4 separate regions of the Homo sapiens genome follow, and all the other regions are linked to region 1. The links are contacts of gene promoters, found by promoter capture Hi-C in human tissues and cell types (Jung and others, 2019). All regions are on one chromosome and are shown on one strand. The core of a region is centred on a gene start or on the middle of the fragment in contact, and the rest is flanking DNA. Distances in the headings are between cores, read along the strand shown.

Region 1 (4,300 bases), core at 770-3,269:
AGTCACCTACAACATTTATAAAAATGTTGAGAAAATACGCACTTTCTATACAAATAAACAGAAAGCTATCATGCTTTGGGTATACTGGCTCATACTGAGCCCAGGTTGAAGATGCTACATTCTAACGGTGACATGTTTCCAAACGGTTGGATGTTCTCACCCTTGAGTGCAGAAAACTCTCAACTCGTCTATATTTTTCAGGCACAGAGGGAGAGGAGATAAGGTTCACACCCCACCTTTGGGAACGGAACAAAAGCAAAGGCTTGGCAGGGCTGAAAAAAACTCCTCCTTCGTCAGGACCCTAGAGGTGGCAGCTCTGCAGGGCTCCCTTCATATTTCCTCCTAGTTAACTCACTCTCGGCGGTCACAGAATCTATGTCTACACCTTGGAATGGCCACAGGCAGGCTAGGAGGTCAGTTTAGCCCTTTGCCTTGGATCGCCTCCTTTCCCCAAGTCTCCCAGTGGCTTCTAATTAACCCTTTCTGGTTCCTGCCCAGGTCAGGGCTGCTGGAAGCGTCCTCAGCAACATTCTACCATTATCTCCATCAACTCGTCACCCCACACAAGGACATAACTTCCTTTTGTGGTTTATCGTCGGTCAATTTGCATGTGCTTTGCTTTCTTTCCTTCCTACCGGCGGGCGGAGAAGGGGCTCAGTGCCTTCGGGAAGGCCCTCTCTCCCTCCCTGGCCCTCTACTGGAGCGGGATCCGGCAGCTCGCCAGCAGGTCTGCAGTGAGGAGGGATCGCACTCGCGTTAACCCTTTGAAGGGAGTTGGGAGATCTGTTCTCACTTGGGACCCGCTAAAGTGGGGCCAGTGGAGCCTGACAATCTCCCTCCCGTTCCTACACGCCCCCACCCCCCCAGAACCAGAGCAGGCTGGCACCTTCTTCCCCGCTGGTGGCCAGTTTTAATCAGCTCTCACTCTGCCCCAAACCTGGGATGGGGGAGGGGGCTTGCTAGAAAACAGGCGGCGAGGGAAAAAGACAGCAGGAGGGCAGAAGGGAAACTCAGTAGTAAATCATAGTTGAGACACAGTGTTTACTTACGAAATTTGGGGCTGGTGCTAGTTTCTGGTGTGGTGGTGGTAGCGGAGGAGGAAGAAGAGGAAGAAGAGGAGGCAGCATCCTGAAAGGGAGACAGGGTCCAGGAGGGAGTAGAATCGTGAAGGTAGGAGGAGGTAGCGTATGCCGCAGTAGGCCAGGAGGGCATTGCCTGGGTACTTGGAGTTCCTGGCACCGGGGGTCGGGAGCCCAGCGTGCTGCTACTGAAGAACGGGGCCGTGGTGGACGGGACCGTCGCAGGGGCCGCAGTGTTCCGTGCTGTGGTGGAGCGCGGGCTGGCCCGGATGGGCACCCGGTGCCCGGGGAAGCGAGTGGGCGCCCGCGTGATGGTGGTCAGGCGAGTGCTAATCCGGTTGGGCGTCCTGGAGGAGGCGGCACCCCCGGCGGAGGGGGTGGCGGGGGACGTGGTGGAAGTGGTAGTGGTGGTGGTCTCCATGGCCTTGGGGAAAGAGCTGGGCTTGGAGAGGAAGAAGGGGTCCTGGCCCATCCCCTTGGAGTCCACTAGGTCGGTGGGCACGTACTCCTTGACGGAGCCCACCACGATCCATTTGAGAAGCATGAGGCTGAGCCCCAGGCCGATGAAGCCGATGAACAGAGGTACCACGCACAGCCACGTCTGCTGCCGGTTCCACACGATGCAGTCGCTACAGCGTAACTCCCGGGGGGGCTCGGCCGCCCCTTCGCCGCCGCCGTCCGGGCCCCCGCCCGCCGCTGCCGCCGCCGCAGCCGCCGCGGTGCCCTCCTCGGCCGAGGCGGCGGCTGCCGAAGCGGCACCAGGTGGCGAGGCAGCGGCCGCCCCTTCACTCATCCTAGGAGCCGGTCTTCACCTTCGCCCCCCCGAGGGCCGCGGCAGAGGCATGGGGCCGCGCGGGCCGGGCGCGGGCGCGGGCGCGGGCTCCGGCGGCGGCGGCGGGCTCGGGCGCAGGCAGCGGCCGCGGCGGCCGCATGCAAATCCGCTCCCTGCCCCCACGCCCCTCCCCCCGAGAGGCGGGCGGCGGGCGGGGAGGAGAGGAGCGGGGGAGGGGACGGGGCCGGGGAGGGGGCGGTAAGGAGCTCGGAAGAGGGGCGAGACGGGCCCCCGGCGCCTCCGGTCGGTCAGAGAGCGGCGGGGCGCGTCTGCAGCCCTCCAAGCCGCCTCCTGCGCGCCGGGTCCCCGCGCCCGCTGCTGCTGCTGCTGCCCGCCGCCTGCGTGCGCTCCAGGAGCGCCGACATCCTCGGGGCACCGCGCCCAGCCCGCTCCCTGGGGCGCCCGCTCGCGCCGCGCCTGGGCCTCGCGCCGCCTTCAGTGGCCCCGGCGGCCGGTCGCGGGGTGCCGGGTGCCCGCCACCCGCATTCCGACACAGAGGGCCTGCCTGGCCGCCGCGATCTTCGGCGGCTGCTCCGCGAGCCCGGGCGGTGAGGTGCACCTGTTCTTCAGCCGGCCCGCAGCCAACCCTCGGCCAGCACTCTTCTGGAGAGACCAATCCCAGCGCAGCGCGGAGGGCTAGCGGCCCGGCTCGCCTTGCTCCAGCCGTTCGCTGCTGCGCGCCGCTGCCGCCGCCGCCGGAGAGTCAAACTCCAGCGAACAGCGCCGCTGTCGCCGCCGCGAGCCAGGGGCTGGGGGCGCACCGGGCGCCCGCGGCGGGTGCGGTCTGACCCGCCTCCGAGGGACCCAACAAGCAGGCAGAGGATCGGAAATCACGCCCCGGCGCCCTGCCCGGTTGAGCGTGGGGGACGGAAGCGGGAGACTGCGTCGGGGGTCCCGGGGAACGCAGACCCCGGGCTGAGGGCGTCTCCAGACGGGCTCTGGCTGCCAGGCTGGTGCGTGTGTGTGTGCAGAATCGCCGCGGCGGGCTGGGATTCGGGCAGAGTAGCGCCTCCCACTAGCAGCTAATGCTGGTTTCTTAATGCACACAAGATAGATAAATGATCCAAGCAAACCCCCGTTTGCGGTGGGGTGGGGGGGCAAAAGCAGCTTCCGACCGATTGTGAGTCGTCTCCTGTACGGATCCAGTGGGGTCAGAGACTGACGCTGCTGGGCGAGGGGGCGGGGGCGGATGCGGGTGGGAGGGTGCCTGTGCCCTCCCCTGCCGGATGGCGGTGCGGCTGGATGGAAGGCCACCTTTGCCTGAGTTCCTGAGAGATGCAGGTGGAGCAGAAGACCTTTGTATAATCAGACCTGTCAGATATCTCCAAGCCATTTATGTGAACTTGCCTTAAAATATTGTCTTTACCTGTAAATGTACGCACAGGTACACACGTTACAAGGCAAGTGTTTGTGAGAGGTAAATATGAAAGGATTTGGGGTTGGACTCCCAAATTCCGTTACTGCTTTCTTCCCTTGGCTGGGGAGGCACCTGTGTACCTATTTCTCCAGCGCTGTGTGGTACCTGCCGAGGCAAGGGGCAAAGAGCCAGTGTTAGCATGACATATGCCGACAGTGCAAAACCTTGCTTGCCAACTCTCCCCAGATTTCCTGGTCTAAAGTGAAAACCGAAGAGGAGGGGTTTTTATTTACAAGCGTTAAGAATATGAGGTTGAGAAAGGCAACTTTCTAATACATTCCCCCAGCACTGTCTGATTGGCGTGGATGATGGAGCCCGCATTCTCTTGTCCTGTGATAGTCTCCACAAAGATGAAGTTTTCAAGGTATCCATTTTATTCACAGGGGGAGAGCCAAACGTTACACTGAAGAGACTGCAGAGAGCAGAGGATGCATTGAAACAGGAAGCCCCTGGGGTTTGGTGCCTACCAGAGTACTTTGCACAGACAAGGTTAATAAATTATTTTTGATGGCAGTAATGCGGCTGTCACCTCTTTCAGCTATAACATTGAGACTTTCCCCATAGGAAAGCTTTTGATTTTTAGTTTGATGGAACATGCCTTAATCTAGTAGTGCTGAATTATGGTTCCAAAAATTGTAAGCAAAAAAAAAAAAACCAGAATCCTTTGAATCCAAATTCCTTTAGCTTTCCAATGTAAAGCACTGCCATCTTAAGTAAAAACTGACCCAGTATCTACCTTCTGTAGGTGCTAGGAATCTACTTCCCAGCTAGGAATCTACTTGCCCAGCCTTTCTTGTGTAGCAAATAAAAGCTTTCCTGCAAACCTCTCTGGAATTATAGCAGGTGCTACTGTCAGCTATTTGAGACAGAAAATTACTTTTCCCAAGCACTCCTAGTTCATTGCCCATCCCCACCACTGCCAGTATTCCTGTGGTCTCTCCCATTTTTTCTGCCTGGTAGAGTAAATCCAGT
Region 2 (4,300 bases), core at 1,234-3,733, 220 kb before region 1:
CAAGAACCTGGATCTTTTACACTGGGCTGCAAGAAAATGCCCTGACTTTTTCCCCAAATGGAAACCTTGTCTTTAATATACTGGAAGAAAGACATAGTATCTCCTTCTCCAAGGTTATTTGCTCTACAAATGTCCTTCAACATATAATCCAAACAAATTTCATAGTGCTTCTCCTGCTATAGAAACAGAAATACAAGAGACCCATGTAGAATGATCTCCCAACAGACCTAATTAAGATATGCTTCTTTGTGGAAATAAATTTAGGGAATCCTCTCCAAGGCACATGAATGAAATTACATGACAGATGACTGAAGATTGGGAATCTTGGGTAGGGGGTGGGTGGGTATCATTTTATACTAGGATGAAAATGGTGCTTGAAAGTTGAGGAATGTGCATGTGCATGTGTGTGTGCGTGTGTGTGTGTGGGTTCAGTTGAGGGTGGGGATAATGGATTTTTAACATATATTGACAGGCTATTAGGCAACAAGCCACGCATTAGACAACATGGCATAGCAGTTAACAGCCAAATGCTTTGAAGTCAGGCAGAACTAATTTGCATCAGGTTTCTGCCACTTACAAGCTGTGCAACATAAGCCAAGATACTTGTTGACCCTGAGATGCCATGTCTTTAAGTGAACAATAGAAATCATAATAAAGGCACCTTCATAGTCTTCAACTTCATAGTAAAAGTTGATTGAGATCATGCACTTATAGCATTAGTAACAGCCTGGCACGGAATAAGTGCCAAAAAAATGTTAACTATAGTAATAATATTTTTTCTTCACTAAATTGTCCAATCATCCTAATTATTGTCATGTTTCAACCTTGAAAACTGTATACCCTTTCACACCATTTCTCCAAGTAAGATATATTGATGACTAATAGGTGCATGAGGGGACACTCAACATAATTGACTACTGGGAAAGTGCAAATCCAACTTACTGTTTCACATCCATTAAGATGGTTATTATTTAAAATAAAAACACAAAATCACAAGTGTCGGTGAGAACGTGGAGAAATTAGAACACCTATGCATTGTTGGCAGGAATGGCGCAGCTGCTGTGGAAACAGCATGGTAGTTCCTCAAAAACACTAAAAATAGAATTACCATATGACTCAGCAATTCAATTTTTTGGCATATACACACAAAATTGAAATCAGAGACTCGAATATCTGTTTGTACAGCTGGTCTTGGGAGCATTATTCACAACAGCCAAGGGACAGAGGCAACCAAATCAACTATTTAGCAGATGAACAGATAAAGTGTGGTATATGCATGCAATGGAATCCAATTCAGCCTTAAAAAGGAAGGAAATCTTGAAAAATGCTAGAACATGAATGGACCTTGAAACCATGCTTAGTGAAATACACCAGACACTGAAGGACAAATATATGATTACACTTACATGAGCTACCTAAAACAGGCAAATTCATAGAGACAGAAAGTACAATAGAGGTTACCATGGCTGCAGGTGGCATGAGGAGGAGGAGAAGGAGAAGTTATTCTTTCATGGTTACAAAGTTGTTTTTGGAGATGATAGGAAAATCGGGGACATAGACAGTGATAATAGTTACGCGACATTGTGAATGTATCTAAGACTACCGATCAATGGATAAGCCACATGTTTGAATGGTTGCACTGAAAAATATTATGTATATCTTATCACAATTTTTAAAAGGTTACAATGAAATGGAAGAAAGAGAAAAAAATAAAATTTTGCCTCAGGAGAAATTAAAAAAAAAACAAACTAGTCTTAGGTTACACTGCTGGAAGTGTGAAATCTCAGATTTTACTCAGATCTGACTCTAAAACGTTTTTGTCTTAAATGCTTCACACTGCACCGTTATGCTCCTGTGTAACAAGGCTGAGGCAGGAGTCTTTGCAACCAAACATGAAGCACTACCTTTTTCTGCCTTTTCTAACACAACACATAATGTAAGTGTACAAACAAAATTCATGAATACTTAAGCCCTTAGATACACTCTAGGATGTTTTTAGTCCCAAACCAAACGTTATTTCTGCCATGTTATCGGATTCCCATTTCAGATATAGAGTTCAAATGGTAATAAGTCTTGTTTTGCCCCCATTAACATTATTGGATACTCAGCTGAGTTCTGGTTTATGTTGTAATGTGCTCCTGACATGGTTTCAACCCCATTTAGGCAATCCACTCGTCCCTTCTTTATTCAAATATGGCAGCATCATGCTGTAAATACTTTCCTAGCACAATGGATTCTAATCCCAACGGAAATGACTGGTGCTTCATTAAAAAACAATGGAATCACCTGCTTTTTATTTTCAGTTGTTGGCATATATGTTTTCCTCATACTTTGTTGCTTTTCTCAAATTTAGTAAAATTTTAAAAATTTATTCTTAATCAACATATGTTCATCTCAACCAATTAAATAAAGTGTAGCACATAGTAGGATAGAGATCATTATATTATTGTCCTCACAGGAGAACTTTCTGATAGCTATAAACAATAAAACAGTGTACTCTAATTCAAGATATTTTCTCCAACAGTCACTAACCCAGTCCTATTGAAACTATGTATTCATTTCATACCTCACACAGGCTATTAGTATTCTCAATAAAAAATATAGTAGTCTTGGAAACCACAGCAAATTAAATGGAGAGAACTGTACATTAATAGCAATCTGCATGGTAACGTGCGTCTGTAGTCTGCAGATGCCTGTTACAGGACTGTACTTCACTACAGTATGTAATGTCAAAAAGAGAAACCCACTTATATATTATGTATTCAGAGTCAGAAAGCTTTAAAGTCAGAAGGGAAATGTGACTCTGTCAATTTCAACCCCACCATGCCATGGAAGAGGGCAAAGAGCTGGGGCAGGGAACTGACTTGCCTATGATCACAGAACTGAGGAGGGACCTCACTGGGGCAGGAGCCTAGAAGGCTAGACCAATTTCATAAGTGTAATGCTTATGTTGGCTAAGACCATAAAATGCCCACATGCCTTCCTATTGTGGAGAAAATTCTCTTAAAAGAAAGATTGAAATGTTTAAATCTACACATCTTCAACTTTGCATAATATCTTTTTACAAAGTCTGAATCAATAAGGTATGGAATCAGTTTGCAGCTTGATCATCTCAAAGAGAATTAGATACTAAAAACAAACAAACCAAAAACTTAACAAATATTCAACTCGTTTATTAGAGAACTAAAAGAGGTCACTGGATTGAGAGTTGCCATGACAACTGTCAGGCAAGAATGAACAGAGGTTTGCTCCTAGCTATCTCATTGTCTAAGAGCTGGGAATTAGGCTCACCACTCCACCCCCTGGCTGCTTTCTCCTCTCTGGCTCTCACTTCCTTCCCTGACAGCCCAGATTCTTCCATATCCATCTCCATATCATGCAAAGAAATAACCTCTGTTAGGCAGAACACAAGGGAAGCACAGATTGCCTCATACCAGCAGTTATAATCAATAAGAACGCTCAAGTGAAACAAGCTGCCACTGCATTGTGAAGCTTAAAGCAGAAAAAAAGTAAAGCTCTAATACAAAATGTAAGAAAGGCCACTATTTTAACAAAAATTGTGTCTTTTTAAATGCTAATTTGCTACTTATAAATTAGCATTTCAATAACAAAATGCAGTAATATGGCAATCTTTTACTAGCATTAACTTATTTGCCCATTGCTCACTAAAATTCCTAAAACTAACTGTAGACTTGTACCTGGATTTGAAATAAGTCCCTGAAAATAAAGATCCAGCATCCCAAACCTGAATCATATAATTTTCATCATTTGACATTTCATTTTCATACTTTGTTGATTCTTTACAAAAAAAAAAATCTTCTCTGCTGGTTTTTAAGTTGAGCACCCACTAGGGAGGGATGATAATTTTCTCTGACTCTGGCTGATTATGGCAAAGGTACAACGATGTGAAGGGCATATTACAAAACAAAATGCTGACACTGATTTTGACCCACTTCAAGTCAAAACGTAAATTTTGTTTATGACTAAAATTGAAATAAGCCTGTCAGGGTAGCATATATAGAAATTGAATAACTGTATTGGGGAAAAGTCGAGTACAGCCAGTCACAGCTCCCTACTTCCTGTCTTCAATGTCTATTAAATACCGAGCTGAGGGAGATAAAGTTTTAAAACTTTGTATAGTCATATACAAAGGAAATTTATTCTTCCCCGGTCTGATTCTCATCTTCTCTGCTTAGTGTCACAGCCTGTGCATTCAAAATCAAAGGAACCCTTTGCACATGAAAAGAAATGCCAAATTACTTACATAAACAGAGCATTCAAGTTATGCATGAAAGGCTTT
Region 3 (4,300 bases), core at 584-3,083, 180 kb before region 1:
AATGAAGTACACATATAAGGGGTGATGGAAAATAGGAAAGAAATATTTTAAGGAAAGGATAATAGAGTGGAAAGATCCAACAAGCAGTATAAAGTGCAAAATCCTAATAGAAAATAAAGACAATGATTATTTGGAGTAAAAATTCATGGGAATTTTCCAGAATTAATGAGAGATAACAATGATCAGAATCAGAAGGTTGTGAATTCTACACGTAGATAAATCCTACTGAAATTGCAGTGTAAAAATAAATAGAAGTTTTAAAAAACAGCTGTGGGAAAAAAAGTCATCCACAATAAACAATAATTAGACTACTGGCTTCTCAATAGCAAACACAAAAGTCAGAAAGCAATGGAACAATATTTCGAAAATGCTAAGAGAACATAATTGTTAACCTGGAATTCTAGCCAGAAAAGCATCTTTGAAAGCTACAGTCAAAATAAAAACATTTCTATTTAAACAAAAACTCAGAGCTAACCCCAACTAGACTGTTAAAAAAGAAAATTTCAATGAGATACTTGAAAAATCCCAGATGGAATGTCATAGCTGTAAGACTGTAGTTCCTGGCTCTGTGTCACATCTACACTGTTCCTGTCAAAATTCTCAGATTTAAACAAGTTTGACGATCCTTCCAATACTTCAGCCTCTCCATTCTTTGATTTCCTGTGGCTTTATTCTGCAATCATCTTTAGCCCCTCACTTCTATAATTGTATCTAAATCTTCTCATTACCAACAACTAACCACTCCATCCTTTTAGCTTCAAAGATTCCTATCAGAGTGAGCCTATGGCATTCCTTTCAGTAGCATAACACTAATTTTTTTTTTCAAATACACTAATCCTTTCACCATTTTACTACCATATTCAACTCTTTAAAGTCATCACACCCACCTGACCAAGCTTAGAATCTCCAGCATGCTGTTTTAATAATTCTCTTGCTCAAGTATTAAACTCCTTAACCATCTCTCATGCCATTGTACTGACCAAGAAAAAATGTCTAACTCGCTAAACAAAATTCTCCATTATGCTATAGTCACACTCCCACACAGGTACTATGATGGGACAAAATTTTTTAAAAGGCACAAGGTTGAATGATTTTGCTTTCCACACATGACCATTAGCCTCAAGTGGTCTTCGAAACTGCCTGGGAAGATTTCCGTTTTCCATTCACTATCCTATTCCCTTAAAGAATGATTTCACATCTTCTCCTCTGAATGACCTGTGCTTCTTATTTCCTAAGAACAAAAGGAGAAATTCAAAGGGAACTCACACAAGCCTACCATGCATTTCACTCCTTAATCTGAACCATTACAGATAAACCTGCCTTTATCTCCAGTCCCTTCACTAGAGTGCCTGTTCCAGCCCTTCTCATCGACATAAGATTGTTGCATATTAACTCCCCTTCTCTTTCTTGCATTGTAAATTTTTCATCGCTTTACAAATGTGCTGTCATTTTTCCCATTTTGAAATCCCTTCCTTGTGTCTACTTCCTATTCTAATTATCACCCTATCACTTTGCTCTTTGCTCCTTTTATAGAAAAAATCCTCAAAACAATTAGATAAAAAAATTAAATAATTACCACCAATTTGCCTTTTTCCATTTTCTCTTTACCTCACTCCAGTCAGTTTTTGCTCATCACTACACTAAAACTGTTTTTTGTTGTTGTTCTTTTTTTTTTTTTTTTGAGACGGAGTCTCACTCTGTCGCCCAGGCTGGAGGGCAGTGGTGCAATCTTGGTTCACTGCAAACTCTGCCTTCTGGGTTCAGGCCATTCTCCTGCCTCAGCCTCCCGAGTAGCTGAGATTACAGGCGCCTGTCACCATGCCTGGCTATTTTTTTTGTATTTTTAGTAGAGATGGGTTTTCACTGTGTTAGCCAGGATTGTCTCGATCTCCTGACCTCGATCTGCTCGCCTCGGCCTCCCAAAGTGCTGGGATTACAGGAGTGAGCCACCGCGCTCGGCTTCTTTTTTCTTTTTTCATCAAGATCACCAATGACCTCTCTATTTCATTTTATTTGACCTGTCAGCAGCAGCTGAGACTGTGGCTCTTTTTTCCTTCCTTTTTGCTTTTCTTTTCTGTTCTTTTCCTTTCTTTTCTTTCTTCTTTTCCCTTCTTTCCTTTCTTTCTTTCTTTGATTTGTTTTAAGAGAGACAGAGTCTTGTGCTGTCACCCAGGCTAGAGTGTGCTGGTATGATCTAGCTCACTGTAACCTTGAACTTCCCGTTATATTTCACATGTTCAAGCAATCCTCCTGCCTCAGCCTCCTTAGTAGCTGGGACTACAGGCACACACCACCACACCTGGCTATTTTTTTTTATAGATCTGGGGTGTCACTGTATTTCCTAGGCTGGTCTCTAACTCGTGGGCTCAAGAGATCCTCCTGGCTCAGCCTCATTCTTTCTTAATTCAAACACTTCTCTTCCTTGGCTTTCTCAATACTAGACTTTTCTGATTTTCTTTCTCTTGTCACTCGTTTTCATTCCCCTTTGCTGGTTCCTCCCCACTTCTCCAGCCTCTAAATATTGGAGTCCCTTGGAGCTCAATATTTGGATCTATTCCTCCATTCCCCATGCCAATACCATATTCATATATCTAACTGCCTACTTGTCAGCTCAACTTAAATATCTAAAAGTCATTCCAAATCAAGACCCTTATGTGCTCCACCCACATCTAAATGAGAATCCTGTACAGTCCTCCCCATCTCAATTAATAAAAATCCTACTCTTCCACTTAGTCTTTTATGCACAAAGTCTTCGAGTCATCCTTGACTCCTTTCCTCCATCACACCTTACCACTAAGCCATGAGCAAATCCTGTCACTTCCACCTTCAAAATATACCCAGAATCCAGCCACTTCTCAATATCTCTGGTCTAAGCTGTCATCATTTCTCACCTCAATTATTGAAAAAGCTTTCTAATGGTCTCCCTCCTTCTGCCTTACTGCACCACAGTCTATTTTCAGAACAACAACTAGAGTAATCCTTTTAAAACATAAATCAAATCACTTCACTCCTCTGTACAATACCCTCTAATGACTTCCCCTGTACCTCAGAGTAAGAGCCAAAATTCTCACTGTCACTCTTAAGGCCTCTGTATGTTTAGAACCCTATTACTTCTCCGACCTCATATCCTACCATTCTCTAACCTTTGCTTACTTTGCTCCTAATAGGTTAGCCACCAGCTGTTCCCTAAAGATATCAGACATGATTCCACCCCATGAGCTTTCCATTTGCTGCGCTGCAGCTTTAAATAATTTCCCGTTACATTCCACATGATTTACATTCTCACCTCATTCAAATAATTGCTCAAATACCTCTTTTCCACTGAGCTCCTTCCAAACTATCCATTTAAAATTGCACACCCAACACTCCCTGCACTTCTTCCAGGCTTTACATACCATCACAATGTTTATGTCCTTACAAAAAAAATGTTTATTTCACTTATGATTTTATAGTATTACTATCAGTTTCCTCCAACTAAAATGTATTTTCCAAGAGGCCAGGAATTTGAGTGTGTTTTATTCACCTGTTTGTCCATTAAAAACTCATGCTCTCCTGAAAGTTGTAGAGATGATGCTAGGAAAGAAGCCACATTTCCCAATGCCCAGTGCATCCAAGCAATGTCATTCCATGAATTCTCAACAATGGAATATAGGTGAAACTGATCTGAGTGTCTTCTGGAACCGAGTGTGTAAGGAGGAGTTACTTCTTCCTCAGTCTCTTTCTGCTCTTATCTTCCAGCTGGCTGTGGAGATCACAGTGAATTTATGGATCTTCCTCAGCCCGGATCTCTGAATGATTACATGGATCTGGGCCCCTCCAACCATCGACTCCCACAATCCAACCCTCATCCTTCTGCCTTTAATAAACACTTGATTTGGACTTTATATGAATGAGAACCAAACTTTTAATGTGTTGGACTACTGAAATATCAGATTATTTATTACAACCACCAGTATTTTCCTAAAAAATATATTACTGCCTATGTCTCCCAATTTTTGGAACACTGAAATGTTAAAAAAAAAAATAATCAAATGAAATACATGAATACATGGGAGCAAAGAAAATGTTAAATAGGTGAGTAACCTAAAACATTTGATGAATAATTAATTTGATAAATGAATGAATAAAAACATTTGATAAATGAATTAATAAATTTTATTAATAATGAATTAATAAAATAATTAGTCTACCATTGGTAAATTACTTGCTCTTAGCTTGCTTGTTTCATATTTTCTTGTGTAGTTGCAAATGCTTTCCTATAATGTAGCCCTATATTTTCTTTTAGGAAACAAGACCAAAA
Region 4 (4,300 bases), core at 877-3,376, 160 kb before region 1:
GGCCCACTATGGCAAGTAAAAAGCACTCATGGCAGAAATATGCATGGCATTTGGTCCTTCCTAAAATCAGCTGATATGCAATGTTTTACCTGTTAACTCTAAATGATACATCATAACACTGAGTTTTCTAACAAATGTGTTCACTTTGGGCATGTCTAAAGGCCATGTTTCCCTATGTTTCCACTAAGAAGGCTTTTAGAAGAACAATTGACATGCATGAACTTCAGTTTTTGTTCAAATATACCTAAAAATGCTGACATATACTGGGGCAGGGAGAGGAGAACTATAAATCTGTCATTTTCTTTTTCTGACAGCAGCAGGTTAATGTAGTGGACAGAATATGGACTTTGGGACCAGCTAAGTATGGATTGAATGCCTGGCTTGACCCTTCCTAGGGTGTGACAACAGACAAATTGTTTTATCTTCTCCATGCATCTCTGTGGGGTTCTTCTCCTGCCTTATTCTTTAGAAAGCCTGCCACTGCAGTTTCTATCCGCCAAATGTTCTGCTTTTGAGCCTGGTGGTCTTGTAGAATGCATGTGCCAGTATACAGTTTGCCAACAAGTTTGTAGAGACACATATATGGGTGCCAAGAGAGAGATTTTTCAGTTAGGCAAAGTTCAGTCCTCATGGATAAAAAAGAAAGATATTATGAAAGATTACATATTACATATATATTGTATATATAACATATATGTATATAAGTGTATATATATGTATATATGTCTGTGTTTGTGTGTGCATGTGTATACATATGGGTATATTTGTGTATACTATACATGTATACATATGCATGGATGTATATATATGTTTGAAAAATACTGAAAGTTCCTCCATTGGATTTGTACTGTTGAAAGACGGTGGTGGAATTTAGTGCTGCATGTGGAAAACATTAATTTCCAAGCTTAAGTTTCCTTCAAAATGTATTAAAACGAAATTAGAAAATGGCAGAGCAATGTATTCACCTAAAATTTTATCAACTTTTATTTCCATAGTGCAATAATGTAAAGAACAAGTGTTCTGAGGATAGACCTAGGTATGAATCCTCCTTCTTAACCCTTATTAACTTTGTGCTGTGGAGCAGTATTTAATCTACATGGGCCTGCTTAATAATATACTTCCACTATTTGTGTCTGGGTTACTTGACACAATTCATGGCAGAAGTAGATAGTGAATACTTTCTTCCCATATCCCTGAACAGGGATTGCAAAGAATGAGGAAGGATTGAAGAGGTGACCTGGGCAGTGATGCGTCAGGAGAGACCATGTGAAAAGAAGAGAGAATACTTAGACCTGAGCTGGCAGAAATGATAAACTTATTTTCCAGTCTTCCTAAAGATCACTCCTGGGATCAAGAACACCTCCCTCCATAAATTAAGGCTAATTCTAATGCAAAGATTCCTGATTTTATCTCAAGGGAGCTGATGGACATTTGGAAAAGCCCAGTGAAGCTAAGTAGCAATTAATGACGAGTTCACTGTAAGACCTTGGGTTCTCAAATGACTAAAGAGAAAATATCATGCCTTGGAAATTAATGACTGCATTCTGTTAATCATCACACTAACTTGCTACTGAAATTTTAAAATGCCACATTTCCCCAGAGCTGAAGCTATACCCTAGTGCCACTTCCATAATATTTACTACTATCCCCAATGCGGCACTGTAAATTCCACTCACAATTATTTGGCTCCCATTTGGTAAGTGAATAGTCTCTGATACTGAAATCGAATTTCATGGCTAATAGGCTCTCTGATTACTAGGAATTGTTGGTATTTAATTTAAAAAATGTTGCTCAGCCAAGACAGTCATTATTTTCTAATGGAAGTTGGATCATTTCATGACATTCTTTCCTGCTACTGCTGGGGCATTGGCAGCGCTAATCATCACTCACAAACAGGCTGCTTCGCATTGGAACTTGGTTGTAAAATATAACTAATGAGAACTTTTCCAGGAGTTTAAGCTGCATAATATCTTATCCTCTTTATATAATACACCTGTATATTTTTAGGGATTAGGCAACTTTGATGCCTGAAAAAGTATTATCAGAACACATTTCAAAACAAAATTATACAACTGTGCATTGTTTCCATAGACTTCCTTAGCACACTCCTCTGAGCTCAGTGGGGCCTAACTGCTTCATAAAACAACCTGAAAATAGAATACATGGCCTCTCTCTTCCTCACTAGGCTAGTGTTGATCAGGGAGGACAAGTGGAGTGCTCAAGAAGTCAAACATGGAAAAGAGGATGACAGAAACCAGTTTGATGAACTGGGAGAGACAGAACAGAGACACATGTGAAGTATCAAGCTGCAGGGAAGAAGCCAAGACAAAACAAATGTTCAGGTGGTAGTCCCAGAAGCAAACAGATGAATGAATGAGGCTGGGTCACTGGGATTAACTACCACTAGGCTCTGGCCAGAAGTTCCTTTTATGCAGTGCCTCCAGCTATTAATAAAGATCAAATTCACTCCATAAAAGCCATGTCTAGGCTTGGCAAATGGAGTCTTGAATGGCTCTTTGAAGAAAAAACAAAACAAAACTCATGGGTTGTGACTTCTAGTAGTCTGAAATTGAGTCCTCATCTTCTTACTTATGAGCATTGCCCCTTTTCTTGAGTTATGTAACTGCTCCAACCAGCTTCAACTGCAAAGTGGGTAAAATGGTAAAAATGACCATCTTAGGGTTGCAATGAGAAGTCAATGAGACATCTTATGATAAAGGGTTAGATACAGCCTGGTGTTTGGAAAGGGCTCAGGACAGTTGGTACTATTAACATGTGATCCCGTGTATAGACAGTAAAGGACACTACAATAGGAAAAAGTGATTTGAAGAAACCATTATGAAATAAGCTTGGTTTACATTTTTCAAAAGGAATTTTACAAATGTAAGTAATTCAGAATGCTCAGAACTCTTAATGTTGGGTGTGCTTTCAGTTTATAAAAGATTTTTAAACAATTAGTGAAAGATTAAATCTCTTGGGTATCCCATAATGAACAAAAGCAAGATTTTAAGATTTTTACTGGGTGTAGATTACTAATTTCAAAAGCATATTTGGGTTTTCCGAGATTTGAATTCTTTCTTCTTTTTTTGCTCTCTCTCTCTCTCTCCCCCCTCCCCACACTAAGATTCCTTTCCACGACTTTTGAGGCATTCATGAGCACCTTCTGTATGCCACAGAGACCCAACCCTTACGAAGTTGACTTACTTAGGAGTATTCATAAACATGGCATACACACACTATGTCCCCAGTTTGCCAAATTCTTGAACACACAGTTTTCCCCTTAGTTCTCAAAACAACCCTGGAAAGCCCGTGTGAGGCAGATGCCATGAATATTGTAATTAAAATAAGAGAAAACTGAGGTTCACCAAGTTTAAGTGCCATGTTGAAAACACACTGCAACCTGAAGTTGGAATAAGGCCTCATCGTGATGTCTTCTAGTACTGTGCTCATTCATATGAGATCCTGCCAATGCTGTTAGACCTGTTTAAAAGACCATGAGTTTATTAGAAAAAAATCGATTTTTCAAACCGTTTGAAAGCAATTTGAATAATGTGAACAAAGAAGGGAAAAGGAGAGAATTTTCTTCCTACCTTGGATCAGGGACAGGATACAGCCTCTCTTAATTTTTTGGGTGGAATGTGTCATGTGCCTACACCAGAGACAATGCAGTTGCCTTGGAATTTCTGTAGCTTGCCTTTGGCCCTAGTGCCATGGAGACCAGACTTCAAACTGCTGAGCTCCACATTCTGCCCTGATGGAGCTGGGCTTGGTGCCCAGTAAAAGTACAGAGGATCCTTGTGCCATGACTGTTTGGCCAGCCCTAGTGCCAGGGGGCTGTCTGGCAGTGCTCATAGTTCTCTGGAGTGCAGCCAGGATCTGCCAGGCAGTCTGACTCCATCCAGAAGCTTCTCAACCAGATGAAGAAGTGATGTCTGTGATCTGCTTTGGGGAGGGACTTCTCAAGTAACTGTGACTTAAAATATACCCTGCCTGACTCAGAGGGGCACTGTCATCTTGGAATTCAAAGTAAATCAACAGTCTGTCACCTAAATGGAACAGAAACTATGTTGGTGATTATAAATTATAATCAAATTCATACAGTGATTAATAAAACAGCGTGGTAGTAGTCTGATCACCTTTATGGTGAATCTGGCTATTGACATGTTATAGCAATTGCTACCCCAAGACCTGTTCGTTAAACAGTGACCTTGAACTCGGCATTAATGTGGCACCTTTCCCCCTCTATACAAAACAAAACCAACAAACAAATAAGCAGTGCCGGGACAGGAATGGGTGATCA

What was found. The method cuts DNA at HindIII sites, captures the fragments that hold promoters and counts their contacts. A contact is called where the count stands out against the background at its distance.
Region 2: a fragment that was not itself captured here is called in contact with the fragment with the promoter of NRG3 in region 1 in 2 of the 25 tissues and cell types used here (dorsolateral prefrontal cortex and hippocampus).
Region 3: a contact is called between a fragment that was not itself captured here and the fragment with the promoter of NRG3 in region 1, in 2 of the 25 tissues and cell types used here (mesendoderm cells and thymus).
Region 4: a fragment that was not itself captured here is called in contact with the fragment with the promoter of NRG3 in region 1 in 3 of the 25 tissues and cell types used here (dorsolateral prefrontal cortex, hippocampus and neural progenitor cells).

The regions. Positions count from the first base shown.
Region 1 is chr10:81,872,913-81,877,212 of GRCh38, reverse strand. It overlaps NRG3 (neuregulin 3), which reads right to left and starts at 2,019. Exons shown (of 9, transcript NM_001010848.4): 1 at 1,050-2,019. The coding sequence starts at 1,872. It overlaps LOC124902549 (a long non-coding RNA gene), which reads left to right and starts at 2,695. Exons shown (of 2, transcript XR_007062377.1): 1 at 2,695-2,864; 2 at 3,712-3,841. RefSeq lists an enhancer at 308-1,070. The HindIII fragment of the contact is 10,350 bases long and covers 1-4,300 here.
Region 2 is chr10:82,088,508-82,092,807 of GRCh38, reverse strand. The region is part of intron 1 of NRG3 (neuregulin 3); the gene reads right to left. Among named protein-coding and RNA genes, the nearest start is that of NRG3-AS1, 140 kb to the left of the region's middle. The HindIII fragment of the contact is 3,099 bases long and covers 934-4,032 here.
Region 3 is chr10:82,052,858-82,057,157 of GRCh38, reverse strand. All of the region lies in intron 1 of NRG3 (neuregulin 3), which reads right to left. It overlaps LOC124902472 (a long non-coding RNA gene), which reads right to left. Exons shown (of 2, transcript XR_007062219.1): 2 at 2,103-4,300. Among named protein-coding and RNA genes, the nearest start is that of NRG3-AS1, 180 kb to the left of the region's middle. The HindIII fragment of the contact is 4,528 bases long and covers 1-4,097 here.
Region 4 is chr10:82,036,783-82,041,082 of GRCh38, reverse strand. The region is part of intron 1 of NRG3 (neuregulin 3); the gene reads right to left. It overlaps LOC124902472 (a long non-coding RNA gene), which reads right to left. Exons shown (of 2, transcript XR_007062219.1): 1 at 3,591-4,300; 2 at 1-3,480. Among named protein-coding and RNA genes, the nearest start is that of NRG3, 160 kb to the right of the region's middle. The HindIII fragment of the contact is 4,896 bases long and covers 1-4,300 here.